2 separate regions of the Homo sapiens genome follow, and region 1 is linked to region 2. The links are contacts of gene promoters, found by promoter capture Hi-C in blood cells and fetal thymus (Javierre and others, 2016). All regions are on one chromosome and are shown on one strand. Each heading gives the region's core, a stretch centred on a gene start or on the middle of the fragment in contact. The rest is flanking DNA. Distances are from core to core; before and after follow the strand shown. Region 1 overlaps COPB2-DT (COPB2 divergent transcript). Region 2 holds the start of RBP1 (retinol binding protein 1).

Evidence for each region. Contacts are between HindIII fragments. The CHiCAGO score rates a contact against its expected background, and 5 or more counts as called.
Region 1: a fragment that was not itself captured here is called in contact with the fragment with the promoter of RBP1 in region 2 in 1 of 17 cell types (M2 macrophages); the score reaches 6.0 in M2 macrophages.

What each region holds. Positions count from the first base shown.
Region 1 is chr3:139,426,786-139,433,130 of GRCh38, reverse strand. All of the region lies in intron 3 of COPB2-DT (COPB2 divergent transcript), which reads right to left. Among named protein-coding and RNA genes, the nearest start is that of COPB2-DT, 40 kb to the right of the region's middle. The HindIII fragment of the contact is 695 bases long and covers 4,238-4,932 here.
Region 2 is chr3:139,536,080-139,543,275 of GRCh38, reverse strand. RBP1 (retinol binding protein 1) reads left to right here and starts at 3,534. Exons shown (of 4, transcript NM_002899.5): 1 at 3,534-3,816; 2 at 4,317-4,495. The coding sequence starts at 3,558. The region is part of intron 3 of COPB2-DT (COPB2 divergent transcript); the gene reads right to left. RefSeq lists an enhancer at 4,459-5,658. The HindIII fragment of the contact is 6,847 bases long and covers 1,380-7,196 here.

The DNA.
Region 1 (6,345 bases), core at 3,336-5,835, 110 kb after region 2:
CTCTCTGTCTCCCAGGCTGGAGTGCAGTGGCGTGATCTCAGCTCACTGCAACCTCCACCTCCCAGGTTGAAGTAATTCTCCTGCCTCAGCCTCCCAAGTAGCTGGGACTACAGGTGTGTGCCAGCACACCTGGCTAATTTTTGTGTTTTTAGTACAGACAGAGTTTCACCATGTTTGCCAGGCTGTTCTCAAATTCCTGACCTCAGGTGATCTGCCCACCTTGGCCTCCTAAAGTGCTGGGATTACAGGCGTGAGCCACTGCACCCAGCCTTCACTGTGGTTCTAACTAATGATGTTGAGCAATTTTTTACGTATGTATTTGCCATCTGAATATGTTCTTTAGTGAAGTGTCTGTTCAAATCTTTTACCCATTTTTTAATTTGGGTTGCCTTCTTATTACTGAGTTGTAAGAATTCTTTCATATATTCTAGATATAAGTTCTTTGTTGGACATATATTTTGCAAACATTTTCTACCAGTCTAGAGCTTGCCTTCTCATTTTCTTAATGATGACTTTTGAAGACACTGTCTTTTGATGAACTCCAATTTAATAAATTTTTTATTTTATAACTCATCCTTTTTGTATCCTATTTTAGAAATCTTTGTCTAACCCAAGATCACTAAGACTTTTTCCCATCTTTTCTTCTATAAGCTTTACAGTTGGCTCTTACATTTAGGTCTATGATCTATTTAATTTTTATATGTTGTGTGACAAAAAGGTCAAGTTCTATACTTTTGCATAAAGATCTCCAATTACCAACCCTTCTATTTTTTGAGGCTCCCCATACACTTTAAAAACAAAGTAAGTTATGCCAAAACAGAATTTTTAAATATTGTGACATACTTTAAATGTTCACAGTTAATACATTAATTCTCTTAACCCAAAATTATGAAGGAACACTGATTGTATATTCAATCTCATTTGCTAAAATTATCTTACCATTTTTGGAGACAGAGCCCACCCCCACCTGCCCTGCAAGATCCCCAACTCTGCTTCCTTGAGGTAACTTTCTCTGCATTCTCCAATAGGGCTGAATTGCCTGCAGGGGCTCACAAGATGGCCCTTGGTACTTAACACAACAGCTACTGCTTGTGGTGGGCCTATTGCTTTACATGTAGGTGTTACACACAAAAATATTACATAACATGTACAAATGTAACATATGATTCTCACAACAAATAACATATTACTATCCTTATTTTACAGTTGAGGAAACTAGGCCCAGAAGTTTTAAGTGCTTTGCCCAAGACCACTAAATGAGGAAAAAGTAAAGAAGCTGGGACTTAAGCCCAGCTATGCAGGGGCTGGAGCCCTACTGTCCACACCTGACCATCTTCTACAGATCCAGGCTTAATACCCATTATACTGCTCCTGTGAGTTCCTGAACTCTGGGTTGTGTGACCATTTCAGTTGGATGGAACTGGCCTTTGTCATTTTTATGGAAATAAAAGAAGGGAGGTTTTCCTCAATAAATAGAGGATATAAAATAAGATTATAGGAATAATTTTTCCTCAGGCTTTTCATTTTAAAAAATTTCAAAGATACAGAATGCTGAAAGAGGAACACTTATATCATACATCTAGATTTAATAACTGTTAACATTTTGCCACATTTACTGTACTCAGTAGACTACACATTTTTCAGAATTATTTGAGAATAAGTTGCAGACATCAGTACACCTCACCCCTAAACACTTAAACACGTATCTCCTAAAAGCAAGGATATTCTCCTACAGAATGGTAATACCTAAGAAAGGGCAATACTTACATACTTTAGTCATACTAAATACTTTAATAATACTAATTATTAAATACTACTACAATAATAATACTACTAATAATAAAGTAATACTTAAGAAAATTAATAATTCCTAGTTTATAATATCCAGTTTAAATTCAAATATCCTTGATTGTCTCTAAAATGACTTTTTGAAAAGAAGCAGGATCCCATCAGAGATTGACACTTTGTCAATCTGTATAAGGACACCAGTCATAGTAGATTAGGGGTCCACCCTACCTCATTACAACCTCATCTTAACTAATAACATTTGCAATGACTCTATTTCTGAAGAAGCTCACACTCTGAGCTACTGGGGGTTAGGACTTAAACATGAATTTTGAAGAGGGACATAATTGAGCCCATAGCAACTGCAAGAGATTGATATTGTTATGTCTCTTTAGCCTCTTTTAATTGACAACATCCTCACTACTTTTGTTTTATGTTTTTATGACATTGACTTTTTAAACAGTACAGGGCTATTTTCTTGTAAATAGTCCATATTCTGGATGTGTCTCATTGTTTCCTAGCCTCCTAGCCTGTCAGTGACTGGCTGAGCCCAGGGAAGCAGAGCAGGGAGGAATTATGTGAATTTCATGGTAAATAAAAGTTGTGATGTGTGGAGAGGCAGAATGGTGCCTTGGCAGAGAGCAGGACAAGCATTCAGGAGACCTGGCTTCAAAGCCCAACCACTGCCTACCAGTTGTCTGCCTCCTTGGACTTCCCCACCAACCCACCATGCATAATGGGGGACAGGCCCAGGTGATGTACATGGTTAGCAAATACAGCCTTAGGGAAGGGCTCAAAAAAGGATAGGAGCCCATGAGAGAACACAACAGTAAAATTGAAGGCAACCCCATTGGCCAAAACCGGAATGAATTGAGAAATAAGTAAACAAGAAAAGTATTGCATTATAATTCATAAAATAAATATCCACGATTCCTTACTGATATAAAAATAAAAATTCCAAAAATAAATTGGGAAGAAGGGATAGTTCTTACTTACAGAAGAATTCCAATTAATAAATGTAGATGAAATGGGAAAATATTTTTAAAAGTCACCATTAGGCAAACACCACAGTAATAATTATTACAGGCAAAAATCTACCAATGGCTGCTCAAATTAGTATAAGAAATTTTGAGGAGAAACAAAATAGTTGCATAGTGTCAAATACGTCCTTCAAGATATTCACTAATTATGAAGAGAAAAATGGTAATTTTACAGTGAAGAAAGCCAGCAGATACTGCCTTCACCAAATGATCAAGGTTAATTATCACCAGTAATAAGACTTATTGACATCATGTACTCCCTGATCCATAGACTGAGGTCATATCACCGTTGTATGCCTGCCAAAAATGCATAACCTCAATTCAATAGTGAGAAAACATCAAGCAAACCCCGATTGACAGTTATTCTGCAATATAACTGACTTGCCTTATTTAAAAGTGGCAGGGTCACAAAAGACAAGGAAAGACTGGAAAGACTGAGGAAATGTCACAGATTAGAGGAGACCAAGGAGACATGGCAACTGAATGCGATGTGAGATCCAATCAATGAAAGAACTGGTGAAATTCACATTAGGCCTGTTGCTTGATTAATAGTAATTAATAACACTCATAACATCACTAATAGTACCCATGTTAATTTCATGGTTTTGATCACTGTATTATGGTTATTTAAGATGTTCCTTTAACATTTAGGGAAGCCAAGCAATGCATATATGAGTACTCACTGTACATTTTTTGCACCTTTTCTGTAAGTCAAAATTTGTTTCAAAAGAAAAAGTTAAAAAAAAAATAGCCACATGTGTAAGTAAAGTTGAAGGTCTCCTAGCCACTGTGGTCTGAAGGACACAGATGAAAGTCCCCTACCTTCAATGTTTTCCCCTCCAGCAGCCTGTCAAGACGCCTGAAATCCCACCATTCAAAACACATTACTTTCTTTTTCTTTTTTTTTTTTTTTGGAGACAGAGTCTCACTCTGCCTCCCAGACTGGAGTGCAATGGCGTGATCTCCGCTCACTGCAACCTCCGCCTCCCAGGTTCAAGCAATTCTCCTGCCTCAGCCCCCTGAGTAGCTAGTATTACAGGCGTCTGCCACTACGCCCGGCTAATTTTTGTATTTTTAGTAGAGACAGGGTTTCATTATGTTGGCTAGGCTGGTCTCGAACTCCTGACCTCAGGTAATCCATTACTTTCAACGAATATTTTGTGTTTCTGAAAGTCCAGAGAGTCACGTAATGTATTTATTGAGCACTTTCTATGTTCAGGGACCTACTAGGTACTAGGGATAGGTAGTGGATAAGGCAGACAGCACCTCTGCCCCACTAGAGCTTATATTCAGCTGTAGCCTCTTAGTACAATGTTAAGATGAGTTGGTTTGCTTCAATTCCTACAGAGGCCATAAACCAGGATCCTAAGAAGAGGTAAATTTGGGTAAGTGAAAGAGGGGAGGCTAAAGCTTAGAGCATACAGCTGCTGAAAGATTTAAGAACTAAGCGTGACACTGAGACAAGTAGGATGGTGCACGAGGAGAAATACAGTTTGAGGAGTTGAATACACATGAAAACTGAATTGAACCTAAAATAATAATAGCCAACCCCTGGAAAGCACTGGTTATGTGGCAGGTACTGTTCTCATGAATTTATATGTATGGTAACTCCTTAGACCCTCACGGCAGCCCTGTGGGGCAAGGTACTGTTATTATCCCCTTTTGCAGATAAAGGAGCTGAGGCGCTGAGGGTCGCACAGCTGGTACGTGCTGGATGGAGTTGGGCCATGGGCCTGGGTAGTTTGTCTCTAGAGACAGTACACCTCACACGCATGGACTGCTGCTGTTCCCAGAGCTGAGCGACAACACTTTGGCACAGAGAAGGAAGGAGAATGGCAAAGCCAAGATCAAGTCCTCGTATCTAGGTCTAAAGGAGAGAAGAAGAAGAGGAAGAGGAAGAGGAAGCCGAGTCTTGCTTTGTGTGAGTGCTACTATGTCTTAAGCAGGATACCCAGTGCTTTCCCTGTATTAGTATCTAAAATTCATGCTTCTGAGATACTGTCATTCTCATTTTACAGAGGAGGCTTAGAGAGATGAAGTATTTTGCCCAAGGTCACATAGTTCTAGTAACAGGTGAAGCCAGGATTTAGCTGATTTATGGAAAGCTTTAGATTTGGTTGCTCTCAGTCTCACCACTGGCCTAGCACTAAATAAGCATGTGTTTCTCTCTCCCTCTCTCTCTCTCTCTCTCTCTCTCTCTCTCTCTCTCTCTCTCTCTCTCCTCTCCCCCCACCTTCCCTCTTCCTCTCCCTCCCCCTCTCCTCTCACACACTAAAGTTAATTATTTAATGCCCGTAATATATATCTTGAGGATGGCATTTTGCAGCACTGAGCTTTAAACAGTACATGTTTAAATACATTTAATCCAATGAATATTTCAAGGTAATTAATCTCCACAGCGTGAGAGAATGTTCAGGTTTCCCAGCACATCAAAATACATCTGAATCAGCTGAGGAAATGATTTGCACACTCTGCAGTGGGTTGAGAAAGATTCACTTAAAGACTTTCAGATCTGACTCCCTGGTGTTAACGAGCAGAAAGGCTGCTAAAGAGAAGGATTAAGGCGCCTCCTAGTGGTTATATTTATGCAAGGAGAGAATATGGCTAACAACTATTGGGCAAGAGGACTACTTGTTTGAGTTGGCTGGGGTGGAAGAGTTTTGTTTTGTTTGTTTTTGTTTTTGTTTTTGGAGAGTACTATCCTGCAAATGTGTGCACATACACATATGTACACACATGCATAATTCACATAATTTTTGTGTATCAAATACACATCACCATGGTACGTGGCACCCGTGTTATATGCTACTGTTTTATGAGTGTGGGAGTATGGTGGAATAACAGTGGGTGAGAATTTGCATGGGTGCCTACCCACATGATTTTGCCTGGACTCTCTAACCCTTCTGCAGGTGTTGAGATGACTATATTTGTTGAAGATTTAGTTTGAGCCTATAGAACTCAATGGATGGAGTTAATTGGCCTGATTTCCAACTCATGACGTTAATAGTAGTAATAGCTGCCATCAACTGAAGGATTATAGCTGTGGCCATATATATGTGTGGGTTTCATATGCTATATCTATATATTACTATACATAGTTATAGTTATTACTATAATATATAATACAGTAATTATTACTATATTACTATAATAATAACTATATCTAGTAATATACAGATAGCTATATATACATATAAATGTGTATATATAATCCCATGTGATCCTCTTGTCAATCCTGTAAGAGATTAGTGTCATTAACCCACATCACTGATGAGAAAACTGAGGCTCAGAACTTGAGCAACTTTTCCAAAGTCACACAACTTGTCAAAACCAGGCCTGCTGATTCCTGAGTCCATGTTATTAACTTTATACTGCCTCTGCATCACATTTCACACGGCAATGAACTTGTGCTAGCAGTATCAAATCAACTAATATTTATTATTTACCTGCTAGAGGCAACCTACTAGTAAAAGACACTGTGCTTGGTACTGTTGAGGGAACACACACACACACACACACA
Region 2 (7,196 bases), core at 2,285-4,784:
CTCAAGTGATCTGCCCACCTCGGCCTCCCAAAGTGCTGGGATTACAGGGGTGACCCACCATGCCCGGCCCATGGACATATTTTTCTGAGCTCTGGTTTGTTCCTGTGGAGTTGACTGATCAGCTGAAAAATGAAAAGGCATATTTCCTTCCTATCCTCACAGGAAGGGCCTGCAGTGTCCCTGAGCTTCCCTCACTCAGGAGCTCACGCTGGAGATCCTTGGCTGTCTCCTCTCCTCCCCAACATAAAATTGTTCTTTGTGCCTGTCTAACTCACTCTATACACAGGCCAGGGTGGTTTCCCACTGGTCTGGCTCTTCTTTGTGGCCTTGGGAGCAATTTGAGCCCCCAAGAATTGGTTGTAGATCTCTGCTGCTCTTCTTTAAAGCTATTGAATAAAGCGAACCCCATTAGAGGTGCCTGAGTATACTGACATCTCTTTCTCTCAGTCATTTACAAGTTGGCCGTTGCTTTGGCACTCTGGCACTCCATTGCTCACCTGTCTCCTTGGTCACCTGGACTATCCTTCCTCCTCCTCATCTCTCTGATCCTGGCTGTCCTCAAGCTCCAGCTAGAGCCTCACCCCGTCCAGGGAGCCCTCACTGATTGCAAGCCCACACAGACACCCTCCTTCTTCTTTACATACTGTGTTCAGTTACTCTTTCTTTGCTTCACACATTCCAAGGAAGATTAACCCAGACAGAAAGGAGCTCCAAAAAATACTTTTTGTTTCCAAATCGAGAACCAAATGGATTAAATCAAGCACAACAGCATGGGCTGAGGAAGGATAACTTTGATGGTAGCTGATGCTTCTGAAGAGCATTTCCCATTTCAACTCATTAGACTGATCTTAAAGCCCCAGAAGAGGGGCACAAACCAGCACCCAGGCTCTCCCTTGTCTTTTCCCTCCCTTCTAGGGCCCCTCTGGCTCAAACAGCAGTGGATCTGGAACAGTACTCAGTGCCACGCCCTGTAGATTCCTCATCCTTTGCTTCTCAGCACCCTGAGAGGTAGTCAGAGTGTCCCCATTTCACAGATGTGGTGACTAAGCCACAAAGAGATCAAGTATCTTACCCCAAATCACTCTGGTAGACAGTGACCCAGCTAGCAAGAACAGGCATTCTGCCTCTAAAGCCTACACATGCAGCCTACCCTTTGCTGCAAGAAATAGCACAGCCACCAGGGGCTGTGCCTGGGAGGAGACCCAGAAGGGCAGGAGCGTACTGACCCATTTGGAAGACTAGACAAAGAGGTGGACAGACAGAAACTGAGTGAAACTAGCTGAATTAAGTGCTATATGTTCAGCTGACCAGGTCAGAAAAGTGAGATCAGGTGAGCAGAAGTTATCCAACGTGGTCAGAAGAGGGAGGAGTGGCAAGCTTGTGGTTCTTTGGGATGGACAAGAAGGACTGGAGAGGTGGGCAGGCCTCTGCCTCGAGCACGAAAGGGCCATTCCAAGCATGGCAGGGAGTCAGAACAGACTGGCCTCTGCTGTGTGCCAGGCACTGTGCTGAGCATTTGGCATAAACCATCTCAGGTGATTCAGCATAAAGGGAGAAGTTTGGGGAGGATGAGAAATCCGGCTAGCTGGGCTGGAGGCATCAGAGAGCAGGGAGAAGAGTTTAGACTAGTTGGAAGTGACCAAGGAATGGCCAGTTCACTGCTTAAGCCTTTGACCAATGCTCCATTCTGGTAAGTCAGGATAACAAGAAAGCCCAAAGCATGGCTGGCCCTGGTGGGATGCCTTACAGAACCTGGGCCAGGCCCCATCCATCCTTGCGAGGTGTCTTATTGCACCTTCAGGTTGGAAGGACTGGGATAGGTTGCCCTGAGTGCCCAGCCAAGATGAGCCCTGGGCTGGCTAGGGAGGGACACAGAGCCAGTGCTTGTGTGAACAACTGATGACCTAACCATCCAGAGCCAGACAAAGAAGCAGTGGGAAACAAGGGCCTAGAGCTGGCTCTCAACCAGGGCTGGTTTACCCAGCACCCACACCCCAGTGCCTTTGACAATGTCTGGCGACATCTTTGTGTCTGGGTGCCACTGGGATCTAATGGGTAGAGGCCAGGGATGCCACTAAATATCCTACAGTACACAGGACAGGCTCCTGTAACAAAGACTTATGTGGCCTAGAATGTCAGTAGCACAGAGATTAAGAAACAAATCCTAGTCTAGGGAAAGAGGGTGAGAAGCGCTGAAATCCAAGTTGCTGCCTGGGAGGAAGCTGTCTCTACCCTGAGGAAGAGGCTCCTTTTCCTAATTCAGCCTGCACTGTGAGAACACATGTGAGCCCCAGGGAGGCACCCTGGGGAAGGTGGTGCTAGAGGGGAAGAAAATGTTATCTGCTGTCACTTAGGCTGTGATTTGTGCAAAAAGCGATTTAAAAGAGGTAGTCAAAAAGAGGGTCAAAAAGTCAGCCCATGTGATTATGTCATCTACTTGGTGGCAAATGCAGTTAAACCACAATGACATACCCACGCAGGTGACAAAGGAGATGTGATCAAAGATTTTCATTGCAGTACTGCTTTTAATAGTGAAAGATCAGAAACAATATAGTTTGTCCATCAGGGGACAAGCTGGATAAGCAATGGAATACTCCGTAAAATAATGGGGATACTTTCTATGTACAGCTATGGAAAAGTCTCCAGAATATATTAAGTGAATAAAGCAAAGTCCAGAACACCGTGGAGTACAGTGCTGCCATTAGGTGAAACGGGAGGAAACATTAATAAACAGTATATTGCTTACATTTGCATAAAGCAGCAGTGGATCTCAAAGTTGATTGTGCATCAGAATCACCCAGAAGGCTTTTTTAGCCACATGCACTTCAAATAACATCAACTATTTTACTTATTTATTTATTTATTTATTGAGCCAGAGTCTCACTCTGTCGCCCAGGCTGGAGTGTAGTGGCACGATCTCGGCTCACTACAACCTCCTCCTCCCGGGTTCAAGCTATTCTCCTGCCTCAGCCTCCCGAGTAGTTGGGACTACAGGCGCCCGCGACCACGCCCGGCTAATTTTTTGTATTTTTAGTAGAGACGAGGTTTTACCGTGTTGCCCAGGCTGGTGTCGAATTCCTGACCTCAGGTGATCCGCCCGCCTCGGCCTCCCAAAGTGCTGGGATTACAGGCGTGAGCCGCCGTGCCCGGCATCCTTTCTTTTATTTTCGGGAGAGACGTGGAAAGTGCCCCAATTTTCTCGCCCGTAGTTGAACCTCCCAGCTTTCCTGACCCCAGCCACCACCGGCGCGAGGCTTTAGACAAAGGCCTGTAAGTGGCCTCTTTCCTTAATCACGCCAGCACAAACCCCAGGAGATTGTTTCCCAACTCCCGAGTGGCTGCTGAGTGTGAGAAGTTAATGGCGTTTGAAGGAAATCCCCAGCAGCCGAAGAGTTCGGCCAACAAAGCAAACGTCCCGTCTCCGGTCTCCTCTTCCTTTGTAGGGGAAACGAACTGAACGTCTGAAACGAAGGTGGCGCGGCCTGGACAAACCTGACCCTTCGACATCCCCCGCCCCTGCGCCCGCCCTCGCTAAGCGGGGAGGAGCGACCGCTACAATGGATCCTCCCGCAGGCTTTGTGCGCGCTGGGAATCCAGCTGTCGCCGCCCCGCAGAGCCCCCTGTCCCCGGAGGGCGCTCATTTCCGGGCCGCCCACCACCCGCGTAGCACCGGCAGCCGCTGTCCCGGCAGTCTCCAGCCGTCCCGCCCGCTTGTGGCCAACTGGCTCCAGTCACTCCCCGAAATGCCAGTCGACTTCACTGGGTACTGGAAGATGTTGGTCAACGAGAATTTCGAGGAGTACCTGCGCGCCCTCGGTAAGCGCTGCCCGCTGCGCCCTGGGCGCCCCGCCGAGCAGCTCCGGGCCGCTCCCTAGAGCCCTCCCGAGACGCTGCCTGCCTGCCTCCATCCCGGCGAGCCGCGGTCCGGTGCCCCCGGACGCCAGAAAGGGCGTCCTCGGCCACCGCTCCCAGGGCAGCCCCCAGGCTGCAGATTGGAGAATTCGGGGTTGTTAGGTTAACCGGTGGCAAATGTCTGCTCGTTGGCCCTGGAGGTGGGTAATTTCATTAGTAAATCTGGGGCTTGGTTTGCTACTTTTTGTTTTTAAACGGTTAACATAAGAGCAGAAAACTTTGTTGGGGGCGGCAGGGGAGGCACAGGCAGGCTGTGCGCAGAGACAACGCAAAGCCAGCGGGAACCCTAACAGTGTTCGCGGGCGGAGAGGGCTCCTGGGGCCCCGCTACCTTGGGAACGGTTCTCTGAGTTTCCCTGCCAACTCTCTGGCGCTCTCTCTCTCCCCGTTCAACCCCCACCGCAGACGTCAATGTGGCCTTGCGCAAAATCGCCAACTTGCTGAAGCCAGACAAAGAGATCGTGCAGGACGGTGACCATATGATCATCCGCACGCTGAGCACTTTTAGGAACTACATCATGGACTTCCAGGTTGGGAAGGAGTTTGAGGAGGATCTGACAGGCATAGATGACCGCAAGTGCATGGTGAGGATTCGCGTCCACCTGGTGTCTCCTGCCCAGGGGGCCTGACCAAGGGCTGGGCTAGTTCATCCGAGAGGGGGCAAGGGCCTGAGGGACTGAAAACTCTTCCCACTCTCAGCCCCCATGGTGGGCAGCACCAACTCATGAAGCATCCTGCTCTATCTACACTGGAAGGTGATGGTTATGAAGGCTGCCATGTGCTGTGTCTCCACTGCGTTCAGGCACTCTGCCCGGTGCTTTATGCACATGACTTCACCTAAGCCTCACACAGCCTTTGAGGGAGATATGAATATGCCCATTTTACAGATGAAGAAACAGTCTCAAAGAGATGAAGTAACATGTCCAGAGTAGCACAGCTAGGGAGGGTCTGGAGTTCAAAGCATGTCTGTTGATGCCGTTCTCTGGCTGACTGGGCTGGTGGAGGGTAAAAGAAAAGAAAGGAGGAAAGAAAAAAGAAACACAGGTAACCCCTTTGAAGTGTAAACTTTCAGTATGACTTAGTGTGAAGTCACTCCAGGAAGCTGGGGGCCCCTTGATCTCTGCTGGAAGCCCCCTGATCTGCCCATCCTTGCCCCAGAGCTGGGATTTGGCTCCTGGCCATCCCCTGCCCCACCCTGTCATCCAATGCCTACTGAGCATTCTTTGAACTTTGCAGCTGACACCTATTCAGTAAGTCAGGGCCCCTCCAGCCCAGACCAGAGGAAACAGCAGTGGGGGAAGAGGGAGGGCCAAGAGCTCCCTTCCACAAGGGTGGGAAACTCCTGACCCAGGACATCCCAATTAGTACTGCCACAGCAGATGCCGGAAGGCCAGCCCCAGGCCTCCATCAACATTATCTGGTTGCTGGGAGGTCAAGGTACTCTTGTTCTCCCTTTATAGTCTTGGGTTCAGAAGTGGCTTATGTTCATCCCAGGAGCCACCTTGCTTATTGATGGGGTCCTCACCCACCACCTCCCACCATTTACCAAGGGTCTTTACCGCTGGTCTGCTGTGTGTCCAGCACTGTGCTAGTCATCTTACAGCACAGCACAGTGAGGGAGGGATAAGTAACCCCATGTTATGCAGTGACTGAGGCTCAGACAGAGGAAGAGACTTGTAAGAGATGAGACTTGAGCCCTGGGCCTTCTGATGTTGAAGCCCACAGTCCTGCTTTCTGCCAGCTTCTCTGCTGGTAGTCTGTGCAGAAACAAGATAGCTGAGGTCTGTTAGGATTGTAGTTGAAGGGATGCCCATGTCTGGGAATAGGCATCTGGAGCCTGGATGACTCATCCCCCCACCTTGTCTATTCATCTGAAGGCAGTCAGGATTGGTATCTGAGTCTGCTGTTTGGAATGATGGGAAAGAGGGGGTAGTCAGCAGGGAGTGGCCTTGGAAGGACCACTAATGGGAGAAAACACCATTGTTGCAGAGAAATGTCAGGTTGTGCCTTTAAAAATCTCAAGGACTCTTAATCTGCAGGAAAGACTCACAATAGGAAAGGAGACCTTCAGATGGCATCTGCCTTTCTCATTACTGCCCAAGACCTGCTCCCCGGCACACTGCATGGAACTTTGCTCCTTAAGAATAATCCTTACCCCCACTCACTATTGTGGAACTCACAGATCACATCGAACCTTTATTTTGGGTCACCACAAATCTGGCATGTGCTGGCTTGTACTAATTATCTTCACTCTTTCCTTCCTTTCTTCATCCATTAACACATGAAACATTTATTGATCACCTAGTAATACTAGCAAATGCAGTACTCATCAAGTGCTTACTGTCATGCCAGATGCTATTCAAACGTTACATTAGCTGACTTAATCTTCACAACACCCTTTCAAGCCTCATTTTACAGATAAGAAAACCACTGCAGGATTTCTTGCTGTGTGACCTTGGGGAAGTGCAGAGGGAGGATTTTAGTTAACCACTGCCCTGAACATACTGCTTCCCTCACGGGCTGGTCACCACGGCAGGCACAGGACAGCAGAGCATGTCACAGGCCCTGATGTCCAGGAAAGCAAAGTCTTTGCAGTGGAGGCAGGCACACCAACACTCGCAACACAGTGTGGCAAAGAAAAGCACAGGGTGGGAGTGAGGGGATGGGGACTACCCAGAGAAGGGGATCCCAGAAGAATTTCTGAAAGAGGTGACTTCTGTGCTTCATTGTAAAATAAAGCAGGGAGGTAGAAGGGAGGGTTTTGGATACAAAGGAAAGGACAAGGGCCACCTTTTCTTCTCACTACAGCATCAGCGTCAATCGAGCATCAAGCAGTAGTCGAGCAGACCGTGCAGATTCAGCCACTGGACGAATCCAGTGAAACTGGTCTAGGATGCATGGTTACTATCACTGCCCCAGGACTCAGGGATGCCCACTCTCAAGTAGATAGCCATTCGCTCACCTGTTGTGGCCTGTTGGGAGATGGAACAGCCTGTCTGCTCTGCTCAAGCCTTCGCCTAGCCCCATGCAGTACAGAAAAGCCCTTCTCTCTGGGCTGGCCGCTGGGTGGTATGCTGCTTTGGACTGCCGGAAGGACATGGCTGGATGGGGGTAGGATGATAGAATTAGAGCAGCTGTCAGGCCTGAGACTTGTGAATGGAGGGGAGCTGGGTACCCAGAGGCCACCAGCTGGGCTCTCTGAGGGCCGCCAGGGGTCCTGGACAAGGTGGTTGCCAAAGATCACTTTCACTGCTACCCCCTCTGCCTCACACACTGGGCACCCAT